Linked DNA regions of Homo sapiens: all the other regions are linked to region 7. The links are contacts of gene promoters, found by promoter capture Hi-C in blood cells and fetal thymus (Javierre and others, 2016). All regions are on one chromosome and are shown on one strand. Each heading gives the region's core, a stretch centred on a gene start or on the middle of the fragment in contact. The rest is flanking DNA. Distances are from core to core; before and after follow the strand shown.

What was found. Contacts are between HindIII fragments. The CHiCAGO score rates a contact against its expected background, and 5 or more counts as called.
Region 1: a contact is called between a fragment that was not itself captured here and the fragment with the promoter of IRAK1 in region 7, in 1 of 17 cell types (monocytes). The highest score is 11.2, in monocytes.
Region 2: the fragment with the promoter of DNASE1L1 here is called in contact with the fragment with the promoter of IRAK1 in region 7 in 8 of 17 cell types (total B cells, monocytes, naive B cells and 5 more); the score reaches 9.6 in total B cells.
Region 3: a fragment that was not itself captured here is called in contact with the fragment with the promoter of IRAK1 in region 7 in 5 of 17 cell types (monocytes, naive B cells, total CD4 T cells and 2 more); the score reaches 10.4 in monocytes.
Region 4: a contact is called between a fragment that was not itself captured here and the fragment with the promoter of IRAK1 in region 7, in 11 of 17 cell types (total B cells, naive CD8 T cells, non-activated CD4 T cells and 8 more). The highest score is 15.5, in total B cells.
Region 5: a contact is called between the fragment with the promoter of FLNA here and the fragment with the promoter of IRAK1 in region 7, in 4 of 17 cell types (M0 macrophages, total CD8 T cells, non-activated CD4 T cells and 1 more). The highest score is 7.6, in M0 macrophages.
Region 6: a contact is called between a fragment that was not itself captured here and the fragment with the promoter of IRAK1 in region 7, in 3 of 17 cell types (monocytes, naive CD4 T cells and total B cells). The highest score is 7.6, in monocytes.

What each region holds. Positions count from the first base shown.
Region 1 is chrX:154,449,698-154,452,884 of GRCh38, reverse strand. It overlaps FAM50A (family with sequence similarity 50 member A), which reads right to left. Exons shown (of 13, transcript NM_004699.4): 9 at 3,150-3,187; 10 at 2,954-3,002; 11 at 2,786-2,856; 12 at 2,566-2,676; 13 at 2,231-2,461. The coding sequence ends at 2,453. MIR6858 (microRNA 6858) reads right to left here and starts at 2,565; the gene lies at 2,499-2,565. The HindIII fragment of the contact is 4,829 bases long and covers 1-3,187 here.
Region 2 is chrX:154,407,731-154,410,970 of GRCh38, reverse strand. It overlaps DNASE1L1 (deoxyribonuclease 1 like 1), which reads left to right and starts at 1,717. Exons shown (of 8, transcript NM_001303620.2): 1 at 1,717-1,859. The HindIII fragment of the contact is 12,936 bases long and covers 1-3,240 here.
Region 3 is chrX:154,325,620-154,328,721 of GRCh38, reverse strand. TKTL1 (transketolase like 1) reads right to left here. Exons shown (of 13, transcript NM_012253.4): 11 at 1,035-1,131; 12 at 764-883. Among named protein-coding and RNA genes, the nearest start is that of TKTL1, 31 kb to the right of the region's middle. The HindIII fragment of the contact is 6,606 bases long and covers 1-3,102 here.
Region 4 is chrX:154,486,061-154,489,403 of GRCh38, reverse strand. It overlaps UBL4A (ubiquitin like 4A), which reads left to right and starts at 2,789. Exons shown (of 4, transcript NM_014235.5): 1 at 2,789-2,867; 2 at 3,071-3,176. The coding sequence starts at 2,820. It overlaps SLC10A3 (solute carrier family 10 member 3), which reads left to right. Exons shown (of 2, transcript NM_019848.5): 2 at 322-2,093. The coding sequence starts at 464. The coding sequence ends at 1,897. RefSeq lists enhancers at 2,186-2,245, 2,583-3,341, 3,342-3,343 and silencers at 2,506-2,765, 3,256-3,343. The HindIII fragment of the contact is 182 bases long and covers 1,915-2,096 here.
Region 5 is chrX:154,372,770-154,376,022 of GRCh38, reverse strand. FLNA (filamin A) reads left to right here and starts at 1,389. Exons shown (of 48, transcript NM_001110556.2): 1 at 1,389-1,517. RefSeq lists silencers at 1,303-1,442, 1,453-1,512, 3,055-3,114 and an enhancer at 2,602-2,651. The HindIII fragment of the contact is 17,250 bases long and covers 1-3,253 here.
Region 6 is chrX:154,355,311-154,358,338 of GRCh38, reverse strand. It overlaps FLNA (filamin A), which reads left to right. Exons shown (of 48, transcript NM_001110556.2): 28 at 1-140; 29 at 716-905; 30 at 1,065-1,088. Among named protein-coding and RNA genes, the nearest start is that of FLNA, 18 kb to the left of the region's middle. The HindIII fragment of the contact is 1,643 bases long and covers 429-2,071 here.
Region 7 is chrX:154,018,652-154,021,724 of GRCh38, reverse strand. It overlaps IRAK1 (interleukin 1 receptor associated kinase 1), which reads left to right and starts at 1,823. Exons shown (of 14, transcript NM_001569.4): 1 at 1,823-2,048; 2 at 2,127-2,294; 3 at 2,397-2,528; 4 at 2,647-2,750; 5 at 2,938-3,073. The coding sequence starts at 1,913. It overlaps MIR718 (microRNA 718), which reads left to right and starts at 1,736; the gene lies at 1,736-1,805. It overlaps MECP2 (methyl-CpG binding protein 2), which reads left to right. Exons shown (of 3, transcript NM_001110792.2): 3 at 1-152. RefSeq lists enhancers at 704-773, 889-1,858 and silencers at 1,544-1,923, 2,274-2,373, 2,384-2,453. The HindIII fragment of the contact is 4,941 bases long and covers 1-2,648 here.

The sequences.
Region 1 (3,187 bases), core at 688-3,187, 430 kb before region 7:
GGAAAGATGCCGAGTATTGGGATATATCGCTAATGGACACTATATCACACGGTGTCGAACAGCATGCAAGCGCAATACCTTTCATGCGAGAAAGGTGAGGGCCAGGAGGAGCAGCCGTAGGAGCTTGTCTTTGTCTAGAGAAAGAGAACAGGTAAGCAGGCAGTGAAGAAAAGCACATCTCTGTTGGGGACATTGCAGGAACTGGCTTCCATGCTGACATGGGAACCGCCTGAATACATGGCTTCTGCTGGACAGTGAAGATGAGGGAAAAAGGTAGCTTCCCCTTGTTCCAGCCCAGCTCACCTTTTTTCTTTCTTTTTTTTTTTTTTTTTGAGACGGCGTTTCTCTCTTGTCATCCAGGCTGGAATGCGGTGCCGTGATTTCGGCTCACTGCAACATCCGCCTCCCGGGTTCAAGCGATTCTCCTGCTTCAGCCTCCTGAGTAGCTGAGATAACAGGCACCTGCCACCACGCCCAGCTAATTTTTGTATTTTTAGTAGAGACGGGGTTTCACCATGTTGGTCAGGCTGGTCTCGAACTCCCGACCTCAAGTGATCCACCCGCCTCAGCCTCCCAAAGTGCTGGGATTACAGGCATGAGCCACTGCACCCGGCCTCCAGCTCACTTTTGACCCAGACTTGGTGTTCCCTCTGCCTGGAACACTCCCTCCCGCATCGGAATGGCTGACTTCTTGTCATTTGGATGTCAGCTTAAATGTCTCCACGCCACAAAGGCCAGCTCATCTTGTTCTACATTTTGTTTTGTTTGTTTCCCTCTCTGTTTTCTACACACACAGCCCCCAGGAACGAGGCCCGGGTGAGCAAAGTGGGTGACCACCCCTGGCACACACTGATCCTTGGTGACCTTATCTGGTTCCAGAGCATCAAATAGCCTACTCAGCCAAACACAGTGGCTCACACCTGCAATCCCAGCAATTTGGGAGGCTGAGGTGGCAGGATCACTTGAGCCCAGCAGTTCGAGACCAGCCTGGGCAACAGAGCAATATCCCATCTCTACAAAAAAAATTTTTTTTTAATTCTGTTCCAATTTTCATGTACATAAAAATAAAAATAGCTGGGCATTGTGGTGCACACCTGTAGTCCCAGCTACTCAGGAGGCTGAGGCGGGAGGATCACTTGAGCCCAGGAGGTGGGGGCTGCAGCGAGCTGAGATTGCACCACTGCACTCCAGCCTGGGAGACAGAGCAAGACCCAGTCTCAAAAAAAAAAAAGAAAGAGGAAAGGAAGGAGAGGGGAGGGGAGGGGAGGGAAGAAAGAAGGAAGGAAGGAAGGAAGAAGGAAGGAAGGAGGGAAGGAAAAGAAAAGAAAGAAAACATTAGTCTACTCTCATCTCTATTCCTAGTGACGCCAGGTGGCTACTTCCCGGCCACGCTGAATGAGACACTGGGCCTCTGCACTATCGGGCACCATCAGATCTCCACATTTGCCAGGAAGGGGAGGCCAGACCCAGGGCTGGGGTGATCCTGGCCAGTGAGGGGCTATCCCCTGCCCTTTCTTCTTGGCTTCAGGCCAGGGGAGGAAACAGGGAGCTGTCAGCTGGCCTTCCTCAGCCTCCTGGAGCCAGGCCTGCCTGCCTCAGCTTAGCCAAGTGGAACTTGGGGAATCAGCTGCTGAGGTGGCAGAGTAGGGGTCCTGGACCTACCCCCGATCTGGATCCTGCCCCAAGGGCTGTCTGAGCAGGGCTAGCTAGGGCAGGGCAGGCAAGTGTCGAGCACAGGGCACCACAGCAGAACGACTGTGCTGGGACGGCCCACAGCAAGGAAGGCAGGATGGGTTTTCGTGGCCACAGGACGGCCACGTCCCCTACGGGAAACTCAACAGGAGCCCAAGGGCCTGGGAGAGAGGCCTGGGGAGGAACCCCCTTCCCACCCACCAGAGCCACCACCGCCCAAGGACAGGTGCCCACGGTCAAGAAGCACAGTGCCACAAAGACACCTCAGGGATGGTGGGGCTGCCACGGTGACAGACTCCCCAGGCACGTATGACACGTCCAGAACAGGTCAATCCATGGAGACAGAAAGCACATGAGAGCCTGGTGGGGGGATGTGAGGGGAGGAGCCTGCCTATGGCCACAGGGCCTTTGGAGGGATGAGAATGTCCTGGAAGCAGACCAGGGTGATGACTACACAACATGGCAAATGTGCTAAATGCCACCAAATTGTACAGTTTTAAATGGTCAAAATGACAAATGAATTTGGTCCGAACACAAATGGTTTCTCACAATGCAGGCGCTCCAGCTCTGACACGTGCACTTCTTTATTGGAAAAGAATAAAGCAGTCACTGATGTGGCAGGGGCAGGACACGAGCAGCTGCCGTCCTCCTCCCAGCGTGCCTGGCATGGTCGCAGGGGAGCGGGTGCCTGGAGTCCCGGTGACACCACGGGGCACACTGAGGGAGCTGAGGAGCCGGGGCCGCGCAGCCTCCTGGATGCTCAGCGGATCTAGTGTGAGGACAAGGTGGGCAGAGGAGACAAGGAAGGCGAGGGGTGAGCAGGGGCTGGCTGCCGTCCCCAACTTGGAGGGGTCCCTGCCAGCCCCTCCTCACCGTGTACTTGTCCCACTTCTTTTCAGGGTCGTAGGGTTCCCAGCGGCTGGCGGGAAAGATGTGCTTGTTCTTCTCGTACCAGCTCCTCAGCACCACCTTGCCTGCATGGGACTAAGGGAGGAAGAGGGCACAGGGCCGCCTGCTGACCTCCCCTTCCCTTGGCTTCTCCTCCATAGCCCAGGGACACCCGTTCCCCCTCACACGGCCCCCTACGCTGTACCTCATCCTTCTCCACAGTGGCGTCACTGAGCAACCGCACATCGTCATGAACATCAAAGTTGAAGAGTGGTCCTGCAGGGGAGAAGTGACAGCCCAATGTCCCGCTGCTGCCCCAGTGACAACATCGGCGGCAAGGTGCTATGGGGGCGGCTGGGTCGGCGGCACTCACCACTCTTCCCCCGTGCCTTGGTGACGATGAAGTCGTAGAAGCTGTGATGCTGGGAGCCAAGGGCAGGAAAGCGGCGTCTTGATGGTCCATCTCGGCCCCTCCCCACACCCCCCGCCTGCGCACACTGCCCCCACCAGCCTGAGCCAAAGCCCAGGGTGCTGCACCCACTGCGGGTACTGGGGCTGAAGGGACTCACGTGAGGGATGATCAAGTCCTCCTTGATGTACATGAGCT
Region 2 (3,240 bases), core at 468-2,967, 390 kb before region 7:
TGAAACATATTCATGACCCGGAAAGAAAGCCCCCTATGCATTAAGCAGCCAGTTTTTTATTTTTATTTTATATTTATTTATTTATTATTATTTTTTTAGGAGTCTCGCTCTGTCGCCAGACTGGAGTGCAGTGGCACAATCTCGGCTCACTGCAACCTCCGCCTCCCGGGTTCAAGCTATTCTCCTGCCTCAGCCTCCTGAGTAGCTGGGACTACAGGCGCAGGTCGCCACGCCCGGCTAATTTTTTTTTTTTTTTGTATTTTAGTAGAGATGGGGTTTCACCATGTTGCCCAGGTTGGTCTCGAACTCCTGAGCTCAGGCAGTCCACCCACCTCAGCCTCCCAAAGTGCTAGGATTACAGGCATGGGCCACCGCACCCGGCAGTTTTTTATTTTTATTTTTATTTATTTTTATTTTTGAGACAGAGTCTTGCTCTGTTGCCCAGGCTGGAGTGCAGTGACGAGATCTCAGCTCATTGCAACCTCTGCCTCCCAGGTTCAAGCGATTCTTCTGTCTCAGCCTCCTGAGTAGCTGGGATTACAGGCGCAAGCCACCACACCTGGCTAATTTTTGTATTTTTAGTAGAGGCTGGGTTTCTTCATGTTGGTCAAGCTGGTCTCGAACTCCCGGCCTCAGGTGATCTGTCTGCCTCTCCTCCCAAAGTGTGAGTCATCCTACCTGGCCTGTTTTTTATTTTTAAACCATAATTTATTGATTTTTTTTTTTGAGATGGAGTCTCGCACTGTCGCCCGGGCTGGAGTGCGAGTGCAGTGGTGTGATCTCGGCTCACTGCAAGCTCCGCCTTCCAGGCTCAAGCAATTCTCCTGCCTCAGCCTCCTGAGTAGCTGGGATTACAGGCGCCCACCACCACGCCGGGCTAATTTTTTGTATTTTTAGTAGAAACGGGTTTCATTATGTTGGCCAGGCTGGTCTTGAACGCCTGACCTCGTATCCACCCGCCTCAGCCTCCCAAAGTGCTGGGATTACAGGCATGAGCCACCACGCCCAGCCCATAATTTATTGATTTTTTAAAATTTGTCCAGCCTTCTATTACCACGTCGAATCCATTAGCTACAGCCATCCCATGAGAAGCTGAGTGGATTCAGCCCCACCTCCTGCTCACAGACCCTGTCCGAGCACCTCATTTGTCCCAACAGCATTACTGCAGGACCCCCAGGACGTTGGACTGCCAGCTCCCTGGGTCTCCTCCTCTCTGGGGCAGATCCTCAGTCCTCCCTTGACTTCACGACTGTGGCCAGATCATGTGTGGACTGTCCCTCTCTTTGGGTCTCCAGAGCGCTTGCATCAAACACCCCTAACTCAGAAGTGTGCAGCCACACTGGGACTCAGAACCCAACAACAGGGACAGAAGACTCACGCCCTTGGGGTGCCCGGTCTCGTGGCATCAGGCATGACTTCCAGCTCCTGCGCCTTCCCCAGCAACTGCTGACTGGGGACCCAGACCGGGAGCTGAGCGACGGGCCTGGCGAGCGAAGCTCGGGGTCTCACTCAGGCACCAGCCCCTCCTTGCCCCAGGCTTGAGTGACTCACAGGTCTGTCATGTCCCGCTGGCCCGGGAAGGCGGGGTCTGGGTGGGAAGGTGGGCGGGCAGGTCAGCAGTTCCCAGGCCTGGTGCTGGTCCTCCTTGTTGGCGGCGAGGCGGAGACGGGGCGGGCCTGCCTGTTGGCAAGGGTGGGGCGTCCGGCCCAGCCAGGCCCTTCCTGGCCGGGTGGCTCAGGAACACAGCCTCTTCCTCTTTTTTTTCCCCTCCTAGCCCTATTCAGGCAGGAGCTGCTCTTCTGGGGTATCGCGATCCACTTAAGGATGAGGCAGACTTGGTGACAAGCTGGTCTGAGCAGGTATGGGAGCCCCCTGGGGAGACGGAAGAAGGGAGGAAGTTGCCTTCTGCCTGGGGAGGGTTTGAGAGGGAGAGGGAAGCCTAGGGCTCCCACCAAGGCTGATATTGACAGCCAGGGTTTGGGGCTGAAGCCAGGAACCGTCGCTCTCTCTGGTTCTTACTGGTAGCCCTCATGGGGGTCCCTGACGCCAGAGCCTCCAAGGCTGCATGTGCCAGCCCAGGGCTGCCCACATACCCATGTATATCCCAGAATAGGCACCAGGGTAGGGAACCCAAACTAGCATGAGTGACAGAGCAGGTGGTCAGGGAGAAACAGACATCAAACCCAGCCAGGAGAGAGACACCGCAACAGAGAGACAGAGAAGGGAAACCAGAGACGAGAGGGAAAGTGAGACAGAGACGGACAGAGCCTCAGAGAGGTAGGAAGTGAGCCCGAAGGGAAGGTGACAGGTTGATAGAGAAAAGCAGGCAGACAGAGCAGAGGAACTCATGCCTCAGGATGCAAAAGCCACATGGACAGGGCGTGGAGCAAGGAGCCGAGCCCTGCAAGGTCAGGTGAGTGTGAGACAAAGATAAACTGAGAGAGGGGGGCTCCAGCTGGTGAGATGAACAAGAAGGGCTCCCCAGTGGTGGCAGGGGCATGGGAAAGAGTCCCCATCACAGGTTGCAATGGGGATGATTTGGCCATATCTGAGACCTTTTAAAATGCACACACCCTTCACTGCCGGGAGTTTATCTTAAAGAGAACATCTCACAAGTGGGGAGACAGAGATGAACGAAGATGTTCCTGTAGTTGCTAATGGAGGCGAAAAGCACTGGGGTCTTGGAACAACATGGTGAAACCCCATCTCTCCAAACAAATTTTAAAAATTAGCTTGGTAGCCGGGCGCGGTGGCTCACACCTGTAATTCCAGCACTTTGGGAGGCTGAGGTGGGAGGATTACTTGAGGTCAGGAGTTTGAGACCAGCCTGGCCAACATGGTGAAACCCTGTCTCTACTAAAAGTACAAAAATTAGCCGGGTGTGGTGGCACGTGCCTGTAATCCTAGCTACTTGGGAGGCTGAGGCAGGATAATCTCTTGAGCCTGGGAGACGGAGGTTGCAGTGAACTGAGATCAAGCCACTGCACTCCAGCCTGGGAGACAGAGTGAGACTCCATCTCAAAAAAAGAAAAAAAAAATTAGCTTGGTGTGGCAGCATGCACCTGTAGTCCCATCTACTCGGAAGGCTGAGGTGAGAGCATCACTTGAGCCTGGAAGGTGGAGGTTGCAGTGAGCTGAGATCACATTACTGCCCTCCAGCCTGAGCAACAGAATGAGACTATCAAAAAAAAAAAAAAAAAAAAGGGGGGGGGCCGGGCGCGGTGGCTCACGCCTGTAGCC
Region 3 (3,102 bases), core at 512-3,011, 310 kb before region 7:
CTCCTTGTATCACATCATCTGTCCCACCTAACCTTTCCAGGCGCAAACACTGCCCAGCCCATTCTCCCTGACACACTGTTTTCTGCATTTGCTGTGTTCTCTGCTATACCTGCTTTCGTCGGGGCACACTTTTTTTTTTTTTTTTTTTTTTTTTTTTTTTTTTTTTTTTTTTTTTTGAGGCAGAGTCTCACTCTGTTTCCCAAGCTGGAGTGCAATGGTATGATCCTGGCTCACTGCAACCTCCACCTCCTGGGTTCAAGTGATTCTCCTGCCTCAACCTCCCAAGTAGCTGGGACTACAGGCATGCACCACCACACCCAGCTAATTTTTGTATTTTTAGTAGAGATGGGGTTTCACCATGTTGACCAGGCTGGTCTTGAGCTTCTGGCCTCAAGTGATCTCTACCTGCCTCGGCCTCCCAAAGTGCTGGGATGACAGGTGTAAGCCACCACGCCTGGCCTGGGGCATACTATTCATCATTCCAAACCCAAAGAAACTGCGATGCTTTTCATGACACCTCGCTTGCCTGCAATAGCCACTCCTCTGTGTTGCCACTGACCCGCCCTGGTGACTGGGCACTGTGCACTCTGTTGGGGACACACAGATGTGTATGAGTATGGCCCCACGCTTAGTGAACATCAAATAACAAAGCCATGCTGGGTGAGAGGTAGACTATAGGTGATGCCTGAGAGCATGCCATGTGGCCAATCAAGGAAACAAAAACACCAAAACCTTCCAAAGCATTCTCAATGCCCACACACACCTTGCGGGTAGTGATCCTCCACTGTAATGATCCGGCCCTCTGTGGCTTTTGCACTGGAGACGATGGTGGCGACATCCAGAGGTTTAATGGTAAACAGGTCGATGACACGGATAAAAATATCTGCAGAACAGCAAAAACCAGCTTGGTACAAGAAAGAGACTCAGAATAACATGCAGGGATAAAAATAAAAAGAGCACTCAGGGCACAGGAGGTAGCTGAAGTCCTACCTCTTCCCAGCTTGAACTTCAATGCTCATACTCAACCAACTGACCTTGTTTCGAAAGCTCATCAGCAGCTGCTAAGGCTTCATACACAGTAATTCCAGCTCCAATAACTGTGACCTTGTCACTGACACAGTGGCGGAGGACCTGGTATAGTGCCAGCAAAACAGAATGCCGTGGTTACTACACACAGAATGCATGTCAAAGTGGAAGGCACTTTGCTATGCCGCTATCCCCCAATTCTAACAATTTCACTCCTTAATAACTCACTACTAAAAAAATCAGATGCATTTACAAGCCAGGACACATACTTTTTGATAGGAAATTACACTGCTCCAGCTGTCCTGGAGCATGGATACGCCACATACCCATCAGGAGTCTGGTTTGAGAGCTCACTATGGCATGCAAAGATTGGACTCCAGTGACTAACATGTTAATGAGAACATTCTGGGCATTGGCAACACGCTGAGTGCTAAGATCTTGTGTGCCTGAACTCTGAGAACCCTCACAGCCTCCCTGTAAGATCTGTTCAGTGGCACAACCGTTCTGCAGCTGAGGAAAGCAAATCTCAGAGCAGGAGGAAGTGGCCCAGGGCAGGGCTGGGACCCACAGCCAGGCGGGGCTGACATCAAAGCCCTCGCTCTCGACAACGTACTATTCTGCAAGCAAAGACAGAGTTCCTGGGCTTCTTTCATAGATTGTTGCCTCCAAAGCTACCCATCGGAGGCATCTGGAATTATTCTCCACTTCCCCTCTGTATAGGTTTCCCTGTAGCTTAAGAACCATTGCTGATAGTACAGAAAGGGTTTCTGAGCCACCCCATTCTTTAAGGATGTCCTGGCCTCTTAAAATACTTATACACGCATGCACACATATCCATGTCCTCTTTTCAAAGCCCAGCCCTTTAACGATCCATGCCATGCATGTTATCACACACATTTATCTCACATCCTTTACTATCAGTAAATTTACTTGCTTTTGTCAGGACAGGAAAATTATTAGAAAAGAGACGACAGAAATAAGCAAGCTCTGCAAACCATGTGAATGTCAAGAGACCCTCCCCATAGAAACAGAACCTGTAGTTAACACCAAAGGTGAACACTAACTTTTCCATTTGGTGGCGTTTTCCAGCTACGTTATGGCACACAGTGGACAGTTCTGGAAACACCTGCTTTATGGCAGCACTCTGGCCATTCTGAGTACTTGCAACTGTGAATTCTGGAGCAGCCTAGTCCTTAGCAACCAAATTGGATGTTACCTGCTGCTCTTTCAAGAGTGGCTATGGGCAAACCTTTCTATTCAGTATGATCTCAACTGTGTAAAATATACATGTATGCCTAGAACAAAGACAGGAAGGAAGCATGCCAAAATGTCTACAAGCCCCACTCCCTAGGTGATGAGCAGAGTCACTTATTTTCTCCATAGACGTTTCTGCTTTTCTCTATGCATGGCCCTGACAGGCAGGCTGAGCAGGGGATGGTCAGCGTGGTGGGCAGACCTGGGGAGACTGGGCTCACTACTCAGGCCTGGATTCTGGTCTTGGTACTCACAAGCTGTAAACCCTTAAGTAAGACACTTACTTTCTCCAATCCTCATCTACAGATAGGACTGATAATCTGAACTTCTCAGGGCTTTTGTGAGAATACCAGAGATCATGTTCCCTTTTATTCCTGGCCTTAGATCTGTAAAATCTGAACCTAACAGATTATTCATTTCAAGTGATTTCTATTATTTTTTGTCTTGTTTTTAGAGATAGGGTCTTACTCTTGTCACCCAGGCTGGAGTACAGTGGTGTGATCCATCATAGCTCACTGCTGCCTTGAATTCCTGCGCTCCTCTATCCTCCTTCCTCAGCCTCCTGAGTAGCTGAGACCACAGGTGGATGCCACCACACCCGGCTAGTTTAAAAAATTTTTGTAAAGATGGGAATCTCGCTATGTTTCCCAGGCTGCTCTGGAATTCCTGGCCTCAAGCAATCTTCCCGCCTTGGCCTCCCAAAGCGCTGGCTTCTGTTTTGTTTAGCTTGCGGCCAAGATAAATTATAGCCACGACCGCTCAAGTGGCTTCATGTTACTATCTTTGAACTCAACAACAACAAAAGACTCCATTTGGAAAGCA
Region 4 (3,343 bases), core at 756-3,255, 470 kb before region 7:
GCCCCTTCTGGCAACTTCCCTGGGGAGGGAGGACCTGCTTCCCAGCAGGACCTTCATCGAGTCACTGTAGGGGCAGGTAGAGTGGGCCAGGGAGCCACAGCTGAATGGCACTCAAGGGCCATCACTAGGCATTGCCTCTCCATTCCTGAGTGTGGGGCAAGGGTCCCTGCTGAGTTTTACTCTTAGCAGTGGGCTTCCAGATCCCCATGCTCCTGGGTTCTTGACTGCCTCCCTCTTCAGAGGTAAGACACATGGCTGGACCAAGGCCTCCAGGGTAAGTGACCCTCACCAGCTGCCTCTCTGTGTCCCTTACCTCCTCAGGGACAGCCCTGCCATCAAGGAAGACAGCACAGGACTGGGACCCACCCATGAACCCTTCTCAGGACAACCCAACAGCACCAGTGGGGATGTTCTCCTAAGCCGCAGAGGGCCTGGGCACGCCATCCGTCCTCCAGGAAGAGCCATGGTGTTAATGCAGGACAAGGGCAGCTCTCAGCAGTGGCCTGGTCTGGGGGGCGAGGGTGGTGGCACAGGTCCCTTAAGCATGCTCAGAGCTGCCCTGCTGCTCATCAGCCTGCCATGGGGGGCCCAAGGGACAGCCAGCACCAGCCTCAGCACTGCTGGGGGTCACACCGTGCCACCGACTGGGGGCCGCTACTTGAGCATTGGAGATGGCTCTGTGATGGAGTTTGAGTTTCCTGAGGACAGTGAGGGCATCATCGTGATCTCCAGCCAGTACCCAGGCCAGGCCAACAGGACGGCGCCTGGCCCCATGCTCAGGGTCACCTCCCTGGACACAGAGGTGCTGACCATCAAGAACGTGAGTGCTATAACCTGGGGAGGCGGGGGTGGCTTTGTGGTGAGCATCCACTCAGGCCTGGCTGGGCTGGCCCCACTCCACATCCAGCTCGTGGACGCCCATGAGGCCCCGCCCACACTGATTGAGGAGCGGAGAGACTTCTGCATCAAGGTCTCACCTGCTGAAGACACGCCTGCCACCCTCAGCGCCGACCTGGCCCACTTCTCGGAAAACCCAATCCTCTACCTGCTCCTGCCTCTTATCTTTGTCAACAAGTGTTCGTTTGGGTGCAAAGTGGAACTCGAGGTTCTGAAGGGGCTCATGCAGAGCCCCCAGCCCATGCTGCTGGGCCTCCTGGGCCAGTTTCTGGTCATGCCCTTGTACGCTTTCCTCATGGCCAAGGTCTTCATGCTGCCCAAGGCCCTGGCTCTGGGCCTCATCATCACCTGCTCGTCGCCTGGCGGCGGGGGGAGCTACCTCTTCAGCCTCCTTCTTGGAGGGGACGTCACCCTGGCCATCTCCATGACTTTCCTCTCTACGGTGGCTGCCACTGGCTTCTTGCCTCTGTCTTCGGCCATCTACAGCCGCCTGCTCAGCATCCATGAGACGCTCCACGTGCCCATCTCCAAGATCCTGGGGACCCTGCTGTTCATTGCCATCCCCATAGCCGTGGGCGTGCTGATCAAGTCCAAGCTCCCCAAGTTCTCCCAGCTGCTGCTGCAGGTCGTCAAGCCCTTCAGCTTTGTGCTCCTCCTGGGCGGCCTCTTCCTGGCCTATCGCATGGGGGTCTTCATCCTGGCAGGCATCCGGCTACCCATCGTACTGGTGGGTATCACGGTGCCCCTGGTTGGCCTGTTGGTGGGCTACTGCCTAGCCACGTGTCTGAAGCTGCCAGTGGCCCAGCGGCGGACGGTCAGCATTGAGGTAGGGGTGCAGAACAGCCTGCTGGCCTTGGCCATGCTGCAGCTATCCCTCCGCCGCCTTCAAGCTGACTATGCCTCCCAGGCCCCCTTCATTGTGGCGCTGAGCGGCACCTCCGAGATGCTGGCCTTGGTCATTGGCCACTTCATCTACAGCAGCCTGTTCCCAGTTCCCTGAGGCCTCTGGGTCAAGCTTTCATCAGCCCCAGCCCCCACACTCCACCAAAGTTCTCATGCACTATGCACTCAGAAAAATCCAGGCTTATTTTTTTTACTGATTTTTTATTCTCCAGCTTTCAGTGCCAAAGAGGCCATGCTGAGTTAGGTAGGTGGGCGCTGCCCAGAAAATATATTTCAATAAAAGAGAGAAGCAAGCTTGGGTCCCTTCTACTCTTTGCCCTTTGGGGCCTGGGCGTGGGGGTAGAAAGAGTGTGCTGGGTAAGTGTGGACCAGGGTGGAGGGCCAGCTTGGGTGACACGGTGACCCCTGCATAGGCTTTCCCTATCAGCCCTCCCCGGGGGTGTCCCCACTCTGGGAGAGGTGGGAGGATGAGGGCAGAGGCGTAGCCCCCCTGCCCCCTCTCAAGCTCAGTGGAGCGTTTCGCAGCCAGACCAGAAAGGAGGAGGTAGGAAGCCACCAGACAGGGAGCGGGGGCGGGCCGTCTGTGGGTATGCAGGGCCAGGCGCCGCCAGCAGTCCTGGCGCGTGAGGTGGGCCAGGCAGTCCGCGGGGGCGAGCGTACCTTCTGGCCCTCCCTTCTCCATGTCCCAGCTCCCAGATGACGCCAACCTGGCCCGACTGGTTCCTGCTCCCAACTCCCCCGCGTCGTTGCTTTGGGAGGGGTCCGCCGGCCAGGGCGGTCGATGCGCGCATGCTAGGCGGGACCCCGGGGGGACTCCTCCCGGGGCGCAATTGGGCCGGGGGGCGGGGCCGGGGCGCGGACGGGGCAGGAGGGCGGGGCCGGGAAGCGCGGGCGGCGGGCGCGCCCCTCTCGCTGCTTCCGGCGGCGGCGGGCGGTTCCAGCGCGCGCCCGGGGCGGCGGCGCGCGGCGGGGGGTGGTTGGGGTGCGCGCCGGCCCGAGTGGACGCCGTCGCGACCGCCATGCAGCTGACGGTGAAGGCGCTGCAGGGCCGCGAGTGCAGCCTGCAGGTAGGGTCCCCGGGCCGGGCCGCCGGGTCCGGCGCGCTCTCTCGCCCGCTCCTGGCAGGGGGACCGGCAGGGCCGAGGGCGGGCACGGGGCGGCCGGGCCGAGGGCCGGGAGCCGGGAGAGCTGCCCTCGGGGGCGGACGCGTGGGCTTCGCCGTCTGGGGGCCGCGGGCTCAACCCTTGCCTCCCACCCTCCGCGCGGCCAGGTGCCAGAGGACGAGCTGGTGTCCACGCTGAAGCAGCTGGTCTCCGAGAAGCTGAACGTCCCAGTGCGCCAGCAGCGGCTGCTGTTCAAGGGCAAGGCCCTGGCAGGTACCCAGGGAGAGGAGACGCCCGGGGAGCCCCGCAGGAAGCGGGACCGGGGTGCGCGGGCCGAGGCCAGCAGCCGTGTGTCGGGTCGGGGTGCGGGCGCCAAGCGCCACATGACCCCAAGGGAGGCGGCCGCATGCCTCACAGCCGGATGCCGCAGCGCTCCGCTC
Region 5 (3,253 bases), core at 140-2,639, 350 kb before region 7:
GCTAATTTTTGTATTTTTAGTAGAGACCGGGTTTCACTGTGTTGACCAGGCTGGTCTCAAACTCCTGACCTCGTGATCCACCTGCCTCAGCCTCCCAAAGTGCTGGGATCCACCACGCCCGGCCTTTTTTTTTTTTTTTTTTTTTTTTTTTGAGACGGAGTCTCTATCACCCAGGTTGGAGTGCAGTGACGTGATCTCGGCTCACTGCAACCTCTGCCGCCCGGGTTCACGCGATTTTCCCGCCTCAGCCTCCCGAGTAGCTGGGATTACAGGCGCCTGCCACTGCGCCCGGCTAGTTTTTATATTTTTAGTAGAGACGGGGTTTCACCATCTTGGCCAGGCTGTTCTTGAACTCCTGACCTCGTGATCCACCCACTTCGGCCTCCCAAAGTGCTGGGATTACAGGCATGAACCACCGCACCTGGCCTTTTTTTTTATGTTTAGTGACAGGGTTTCACTGTGTGACCCAGGCTGGAGTGTAGTGGTGAAATTATAGCTCACTGCAGCCTCAAACTCCCGGGCTTAAACGATCCTCCCATCTGTCTCCTGAGCAGCTGAGACTACCGGTGCACGTCACCACGCCCAGCTAATTTTTATATTTTTGGTAGAGATAGTGTCTTGCTGTGTTGCCCAGGTTGGTCTCAAACTCCCGGGCTCAATTAATCCACCTGCCTCAGCTTCCCACAGTGCTAGGATTATAGGCATGAGCCACCATGCCCGGCCAATGTTTTCTTTAAGATCAGAATCTTCTTAATACTAAACAAACTTAACTTTCTCGTCCCCCTGAGCGATCCTGTTTCTGCTGCCCACCCCAGGCCAGACCTGGCAGCGCCTGATCCATGGCAGTCAGGTTCATCCCAGGGCTCGGAGCCCTGCAGTCCCGTCCCGGGGCCCTGCCTGACGTAGGCGCCCAGCCAACACCTGCAACGACCTGTTGCCCCCACCCCAGGAAACAATCCCGGCTTGGGACAGACACCAGGGGCTGTGACTGTGGGTGGCTCCTTGGAGAAGGTGGCCTTGGGCCTCGGCCTTTCCACCTGGGGTGCGCTTGGCTCCCCCAGACTCAGACACGCAGGATCCTTGTGATTGGGCCTAGACACGAGCCCTGCAGTCCCTGTGGGCGCTGGAGGCGACTCCCCCACGAAGCCCTCCCTCCCCCAGGGCCTGGCGGCCCTCGCCGGCGGTGAGCTCATCTCGGGGGGCGGCGTCGCCCGGCGGCGGGTCGCTGGAGCTCACGGCGTGCCCCCGCACCCCCGCCCCCCACGCACCCGTCCCGGGCTCCTGGGCAATTTTACCAATTAAGGCTTTCTCGCCGGGCCGGGCCGGGCGCGGGGCGGGCGCGGGGCGGGGGTGCGGCCAACAAGAAGGCGGGCGGCGGCGGCCCATTCGCGTGGAGGCGCGTCGCGCGCAGCGGACGCCGACAGAATCCCCGAGGCGCCTGGCGCGGGCGCGGGCGCGAAGGCGATCCGGGCGCCACCCCGCGGTCATCGGTCACCGGTCGCTCTCAGGAACAGCAGGTGAGGTCTCCGCGGCCCGGCTTCGCGCCGTAGGGTCGCCGCGCTCCTCGTCGGCCGGGGGCGGGGTTGGAGAAGGCGGGCAGAGAGGCCGGAAAACGCAGGCGCCAGCTCGCGCCCAGGTCCGGGCCAGGTTCAGCTGGGATGCGTGAGCCGATGGAGGCTCCCCTGGCATCTGGGAGTGAGTGTCCAGAGAATAGCTTCCCTAGTTGACCCACGAGCCATGTCTGTGCCCACGAATGTGGGAGCCTGAGGCCATGGGGGGTCCCCGAGAGAGAGAGGGTGTCTGGGCACTTGCCCATGAACGGACCACTGCATGCCTGAGAGAGAAGGGCCCTGACACCAGGAACTTGTGTGGACTCAGGGCGAGTGGCCACCTGGAAGGACACTTCTCAGCCAGTGTGCCCACTGGGAGGGGGACAGCGTGTCCCTTGCTGGCTCGAGTCCACAGGGCACCAGCTGCTTTGGGCACAGGGGAGCTGGTTCTGGGGCTGCTCTACTCCATGGGGGCCATGGTGAGGATGAGACCAGGCCAGGTTCCTTGGTTGGGCCCTGGGCCCTATGCCAGGTTGGCTCTGAGTTGGATGCGCACTGCCAGCCAGGATATAACCAACAATGTCCCCAGATTCCCGTGCCACCTGGGGCCAGGCAAAATAGGTTAAAATCCACTGGCAGACCCATTTGTAAGTGCTCCGAGTGCACCGTCAAGGTGGGAGCTTGGGAATGGGCGACCTCACCTGCCGCACCTGGACTTGCCAGCACAGGTCTCTTCTCACCTTGCCAGTCTGCGGCTTCCTTCCCTCCTGCGCCCCCTGGCTACGCAGGCCTGGAAACAGCTCCTTAGGGATCCCAGCTGAACAGCTCCTGGGCTTGGGCTATACCTCCCAGTGGGAGGGTCTGGCCTGGGGTCTGAGGGCCAGGGGTGGTGTGGTGGGCGGGGTGTGCCTAACATCCAAGAATCTACTCCAAATAAGGGAAAATATGAAAGAGCTGGATTTTGGCTTCCCAGGACTGCCCGATCTGGTGGCTTTGGGATCGGGCGACATCTGGCGGTTGATACTATGTTCTAGGGACAAGAACCCTCTACACGCCCATTCCTTGTTTCCTCTAAATAGGGAAAAGCTAGGGCTGGAAGACACGGCACCCACCTCCTGACACTCTTTCTGCTGGAATTGACCACTGGTCACTCTGACTCAGTTTCCCTGAGCTCTGAAGATTAAGGAATGAACCCAGACAACCCAGCTCAATGGCCCTTAGTGGAGAGAGAGTCAATTATTGATGGAATTCCGTGCCTGGGAACTTGCTTTCCAGTGGGGCAGGGGGACCAGAAGGACAACTTCAAGCCCGTCTTGAATGGGGCCCGTGCAGGGAGGGGTCTGTATGGGTTCCCCCTTCCCAGCCCTCCCTCCCACCTCCACCCCAGCTCCCAGACGCCCAGGCGCACTTGGTGCAGGTGTGTCTCAAAGTGGTCAGGAGAGGGGACAATATACAGGGGTTGGCCTCAGTACTGGAAAATGCCATTTGCACCCCCTAACACCACTACTAGTGGGAAAAACCAGTGGGGCCACAGGCTGCCCCGAAGTGAATGTGCTGGGCGGATCACAGCCCCACCACGTGTCATGTAGACACCCAGGGCTACAGGAGAGTCAACCATATTTGGGCATGACGTGCTGGCCAACCCAGGGCCTCCATCTCTCACTGGTCTTTAGCAGATAAATTAATTATTACTAGAATTGAAC
Region 6 (3,028 bases), core at 1-2,500, 340 kb before region 7:
TGCTGCCTACTCATGATGCCAGCAAGGTGAAGGCCAGTGGCCCCGGGCTCAACACCACTGGCGTGCCTGCCAGCCTGCCCGTGGAGTTCACCATCGATGCAAAGGACGCCGGGGAGGGCCTGCTGGCTGTCCAGATCACGGTGAGCTCCGGGCACAGGCAGGGGAGGCAGGGGGGCCTGGGCGGCTGGAGTGTGGGCTGCGGGTGGCTGGTGTCTGATCTCCCTGCGGAGCTGCACCAAGGAGGGCAGGGAAGGACAGGGCCCCTGTCTTTGGTTTGCTAAGGTTGTGACTACCTTAGGATGGTGGTGACAGGCACAGGCTTCCCCAGACGTGCACTTGCTGCTAACTTTGAGCACGTCACCAAAGCCTTCTGTGCCTCAGTTTCCCCACCTGTAATATTCTCATGGGGCAGGTATAGGATAGAAGCTTGAGATCACCCCGGTGAGCTCCTCCTAGTGCTGGCCAGGCCCTGGGGCTGAGGATGGGTGCCAAGCTGGCTGGCCGCGCCTGTTGTCATGTGGGAAGTGTGGGATGTTTTAGTCTCCATTCTGGACTCTGCCAGGTGCAGGCAGCCCTTTTGGGCCATAGCAGTTAAGATGCCTGAGGCCCAGAGACTGTCCCTGTAGCAGCAGCGCTGGGCACTCTGGGAGCGCCTGAGGCAGGCCCGGGGCTACTCGGGCTTGGGCCAACTGCCTCCCCTGCCTCTGCCACACAGGATCCCGAAGGCAAGCCGAAGAAGACACACATCCAAGACAACCATGACGGCACGTATACAGTGGCCTACGTGCCAGACGTGACAGGTCGCTACACCATCCTCATCAAGTACGGTGGTGACGAGATCCCCTTCTCCCCGTACCGCGTGCGTGCCGTGCCCACCGGGGACGCCAGCAAGTGCACTGTCACAGGTGAGCCCGCCCGCTGTTGGCCGCTGCGGCGCTCGGCACGGGGCTTGGGTTGTGCCTGTGTGCAAGGGCTCGCTGCTTGGGGCGGCGTGTGGGAGTGGGGGCCGCCCCCTTGAGTGACTCACCTGACCTTTCTCCTTGCTCTCTGCCCTCTCACCTCAGTGTCAATCGGAGGTCACGGGCTAGGTAAGCTGCTTGCTGGGGCCACTCCCAATGCCCCTCCTGCCCAGAGGGGCAGCTTCCTTTCCTCTTGGGGCCGATTCCCAGGACAGTTCCAGCTGCAGCTCTAGGCAGGGACAGAGTTGGGTGGGGTGCAGAAGATGAGGCCGTGGGCTGGAGGGCGAGGGCCCAGGGAGGCTTCCGGAGCTGAGCATGACCGCTCCAGCTCTTCCCCTCTCTGGGCCTTTATTTCCCCATCTGAGAACTCGGGTTGCAGCTGAGAGCTTTGGGGTGAGGTGCATCCTGAGAGGCACCCCACTGGGGACTTTGGGGTCTCGGGATCTTGGCACCCAGGGAGGCACAAGGGCTCCTGCGTGGGCTGAGGGAACAAGGGGTCTCCCCAACTCAATGGGAGCCCCAGCCCTGGCCAGATCCACAGACCCCCATCCCCACCTTCCAGGGGCCTCTGCGTCCCGGGCCGGGGGAGGTGCATGAGCGGGTGGGGCTGGCTGGTAGTGCAGTAGCGCCAGTGTCGACTGCTTGGGCGGCCAGCATGGCGGGGCCCGGCCCAGCCTCAGAGCCCCAAAGTGCATTCTGTGGCCCGTCTCCCTCCTTCCCCCTTCCCCTATCCCCCAGCAGTGACGTTATTCAGACATTCCCCAACAGGCATGGAGGGTCACCTGCCCCAGCCAGGGACACCCAGGGATGCTGATGAGAGGCTACAGGCCTGGCACTTGGGCGAGGTGGCTAAGGAAAGGGTGAGAGGGTGGCTAGAGTTTTGCGGCAGGAGCGAGATGGCTTTATAGAGCAGGCCGTAGGATCCGATGTGTGTGTGACAGGCGTGTGTGCGCAGGGCGGGGGAGGCTGGGGAGTACTGATTGCAGGGCCTTGGGGGCTTTGAGGGTGGGAGCAAGACTCAGTAACCTCAGTTTCCCTGGCTACTGTTTGCAGAATGGAGACAGGGAGCCCGGGGTGGGGAAGGGGGCGCTGAAGTTGCTCTCTGGCAAGCTTGACGGCCACGGGGCTTCAGTGAGAGCCAAATTAGGAGGCATACTTTGAGGATGGAGTGGCTGAGACCTGCGGTTGGCTGGGAGCCGGGCAGGGAAAGTGGGGGCAGTCGGGTACCTGTGAGGTTGGGGCCCAAGCCACTAACTAGATGGCATGGGGTGCACATGAGTGAAGCCTCCCAGGGCAGCGTGGGCAGCCGGCAGCCAGGTCTGGAGCCTGGGAGAGCTGCCTGGCCGCGGCAGGCCAGCATGGAGCCTAGTGCAGCAGGAGCCCTCGGCCGATAGTGGGACTTGGTGGCAGGGCCCCTCGAGCTTGGCCTTCAAGTAGGTTTCGTGCTCCTGGCTGCTTCCCTGGCAGGAGGCCAGGCTGCAGGGGGCACTCTCACTGCCAGGCCTCACAGCCCACAGCCCCCCAAGCCTCCACGGCGGAGACCCAGATCATAACGTCACTGTCTCTCCCCTTTCCTCGGGCACTCTGGGGCCCTGGAGCCTGCTCAGCTGCTCTGCCCTCGCAACCCAGCAGTGGTGGCTGTAGCTTGGGCCTCCTGTTCCCTGTCTCCCTGGGTGCTATCCCCGCTCTGCCAAGCCTGCTGCGCTGCGCTACTCGGGTGCTAACCCCGCTGCCTCCCGCTTCCCCGCTCCCACTCCTGTCTGCACCGGGCTGCTTTTCACCGCGAGCCTTCTCAGTTGTCAGGAAACTCCGGTTTCACCATCAGGCCTGGGGGGTGGGGAGGCAAGTGTCACATCCCCCCACGCTGCAGCAGGACTCCGCCTCACCGCGTCCACACACAGCAATGGGGGCCGGGGCCAGGCCAGAAGGGCGCAGGCAGCCGTGTGCCCAGCCAGATGCTGGCGTTCAGCAGTGTGGGCCATGGTGCTGGACGAGGCTGAGTAGGCAAGGGAGTGGCTGTCAACACTTAGGCTGGAGTGGGCCCTTCCTTTTCCTCCCAGGCACCTGGG
Region 7 (3,073 bases), core at 574-3,073:
CGCAGTTTTATTTTATTTTTGTAAGTTTTTTAATACATGTGAAAGCAAAGAATACTCAGCATGCCTTTCTAAGTGACGCGTTTGCACCTTTTGTTGGGAAGTACTGTATCCTGTGCTGTTAGCATTCTCGATAAATCTCTCTGTGAAAGTGACTCAAGGTCTGGGCTTTCATTATAAGACAGAAGTCCCCCTCCAGCTCACATGACAGCATGGTGCTGCGTTTCCTCATTGGATCTGGCTGTCCCTGGACACAGGTAGCTGCCTTCAGGCCTGCCACGAGCGGCCAAGGGAAGCCTCCTCCATATGCTGGCCTCGCTGGCCCCTCAGCTTCTTCCAAGCCAGTGCTCTCCAGGCACACTGCTCCAGCGTGTGACGGGAAGGGCCTGGCATGAGTCAGCCTGCAGCACAACCTCCCTGCTCCAGACCCGTATGGTAGGGGCACCCCCTAGGTCTGGATGTGCTGTGGTGCTTTTGGACACCCCCACCCCCGCAGGCTGTGGCTCCTCCTGTGTCTCATTCTGGCCAGGACCCTCACGTGCCCTCTGTTGACTGCTAACGTGGTTCTCTGACCAGGCAAGGGCAGGCTGAGGGGTTTGCCCAAAGGGGGCCCCCTTGTTACTGGCTTCCTTGGCTCTCAGGAGCAGCCTCACCAGGTTGGTAAGGGGCTGGAGGAGACAACTGCTCAAAGGAGTCCAGCTTCACATGCACATGCTAGAAGGTACCCTCGGAAGGCCTGGCCTTCAAAGGTAGATCCCAGGGTTGAAAAGTCAACTTGTATGCATTGAGCATCTCGTATGCCAGCCCTGTTCCGTGAGCTGATGGGCCTTTGTGTGTAAGTAGGACCAAGTGCCCCCGTGGAGGTTAGCATGGGTGTGCAGTCATTTCAGATACTTGAGTTGGTACATCTCAGTAAAGTCTGTCCCGTGAGAAGCCATGGGTTTCATGGTATGGTTGGCATCTTCCTTGGGAGTGGCCACAGTGGTGGTGGCTTCAGGAAAGAGACTCCAACAGGGGCCAGCTGTGGGCCTTGGGCACTTCTCGTTTCTAGGAAAAGTCCTAAGTCTGTAGGGCTAGGGGTGGGGAACCCCTTCGCTGTCAGGATCAAGAGGGCAAGGGGAACTGTCGCTGGAGGAGACATCCAGCTGGAGAAACAAAAGAGTAAGTCTGCGTTGCTGCTTGTGGGGTCTTCCCCATCTCAGGGCGGGGACCGGGGGTGGCGGTCCAGACAAGTAATCAAGGACGATGCCCAGGAGGGGACAGGTACGGGGTGGCAGGAGCTCTGCCGGCGGGCTCAGGAAGCCTTCACCACAGCTGCCTGAGCTCACCCTTGCCAAATGAGGGCTGGGGCAGCAGCAACGCATACACTCACGGCTGTGGCGGGCAGCGTTCTCGGCATATTTCAGGACACCTAAGGAGACTGAATGGCTCAAGGCTGCTGCCGTGTGCAGGGGGCTAGACGTGGGGCGGGCAGGCAGGGCTCCTGGTAACAGCCCTGCAGGCCGCAGTGGAGAGCAGGGTTCCGGCAGGGCCGCCCAGGAGCTTTCGGAAGGCCCGGCCCCGGCCCCTTTCCGAGCAGCCCGGGCCTCCGCCCTGCCCTCTGTCCCCAACGCCGGGAGCCGCCGTTCGTCCTCCAGAGCCCCGCCCGGGCGAGCCCGGGAGGCCGATCGCCGCTCGCGGAACCCGCCGGGACCCGGGCCCTCCCCGGCGCGGGGCGCCCCCGTGTGACCCAGCGCGCGGCCGCGGCGCGCAAGATGGCGGCGGGCCCGGGCACCGCCCCTTCCGCCCCGCCGGGCGTCGCACGAGGCCGGCTCGAAGGGGAAGTGAGTCAGTGTCCGCGGACCCGGCCGGCCCAGGCCCGCGCCCGCCGCGGCCCTGAGAGGCCCCGGCAGGTCCCGGCCCGGCGGCGGCAGCCATGGCCGGGGGGCCGGGCCCGGGGGAGCCCGCAGCCCCCGGCGCCCAGCACTTCTTGTACGAGGTGCCGCCCTGGGTCATGTGCCGCTTCTACAAAGTGATGGACGCCCTGGAGCCCGCCGACTGGTGCCAGTTCGGTGGGTGGCGGCGGGCTGCCGGGGGGCGGGAGGCGCGCGGGCTCCTGGCGCCGACGCCTGACGCCCCCCGCCCCGCAGCCGCCCTGATCGTGCGCGACCAGACCGAGCTGCGGCTGTGCGAGCGCTCCGGGCAGCGCACGGCCAGCGTCCTGTGGCCCTGGATCAACCGCAACGCCCGTGTGGCCGACCTCGTGCACATCCTCACGCACCTGCAGCTGCTCCGTGCGCGGGACATCATCACAGCCTGTGAGCGCGGGACTCCGGGCACCCCACGGCTGGGAGGCCGGCGGGCCCCACGGGGCTCCCCCACCCGGGCCTCAACCTTCCTTTCCTTCCTTGGCGTCCCAGGGCACCCTCCCGCCCCGCTTCCGTCCCCAGGCACCACTGCCCCGAGGCCCAGCAGCATCCCTGCACCCGCCGAGGCCGAGGCCTGGAGCCCCCGGAAGTTGCCATCCTCAGCCTCCACCTTCCTCTCCCCAGGTAAGAGGGCCCGGTTGTTAGGCTCGGTGGACCCAAAGAAGAGCCCACCTTGACCACGGCCACGGCTGTAGACCCTGCTGCTGGTCTCTGCCTGCCTCTCACTGGTGTCTTTATGAAGCTTTTCCAGGCTCCCAGACCCATTCAGGGCCTGAGCTCGGCCTGGTCCCAAGCCCTGCTTCCCTGTGGCCTCCACCGCCATCTCCAGCCCCTTCTTCTACCAAGGTAGGTGTCCCCTGCCCCCCAGGGAAGATTCGAGACAAGGAGGAAGGAATTCAGCCTTTGATGTAGCGCAGAGCCCCAGTCAGCCAAGCTGGGTCAGCTGGGAGGCAGCTGTGGTGGGGAGAGCCTGGAGCCTTGGGCAGAAGGGAAGAGACAGGGACCCCACCTGATCCAGGCTCTCTTCCCACAGCCAGGCCCAGAGAGCTCAGTGTCCCTCCTGCAGGGAGCCCGCCCCTTTCCGTTTTGCTGGCCCCTCTGTGAGATTTCCCGGGGCACCCACAACTTCTCGGAGGAGCTCAAGATCGGGGAGGGTGGCTTTGGGTGCG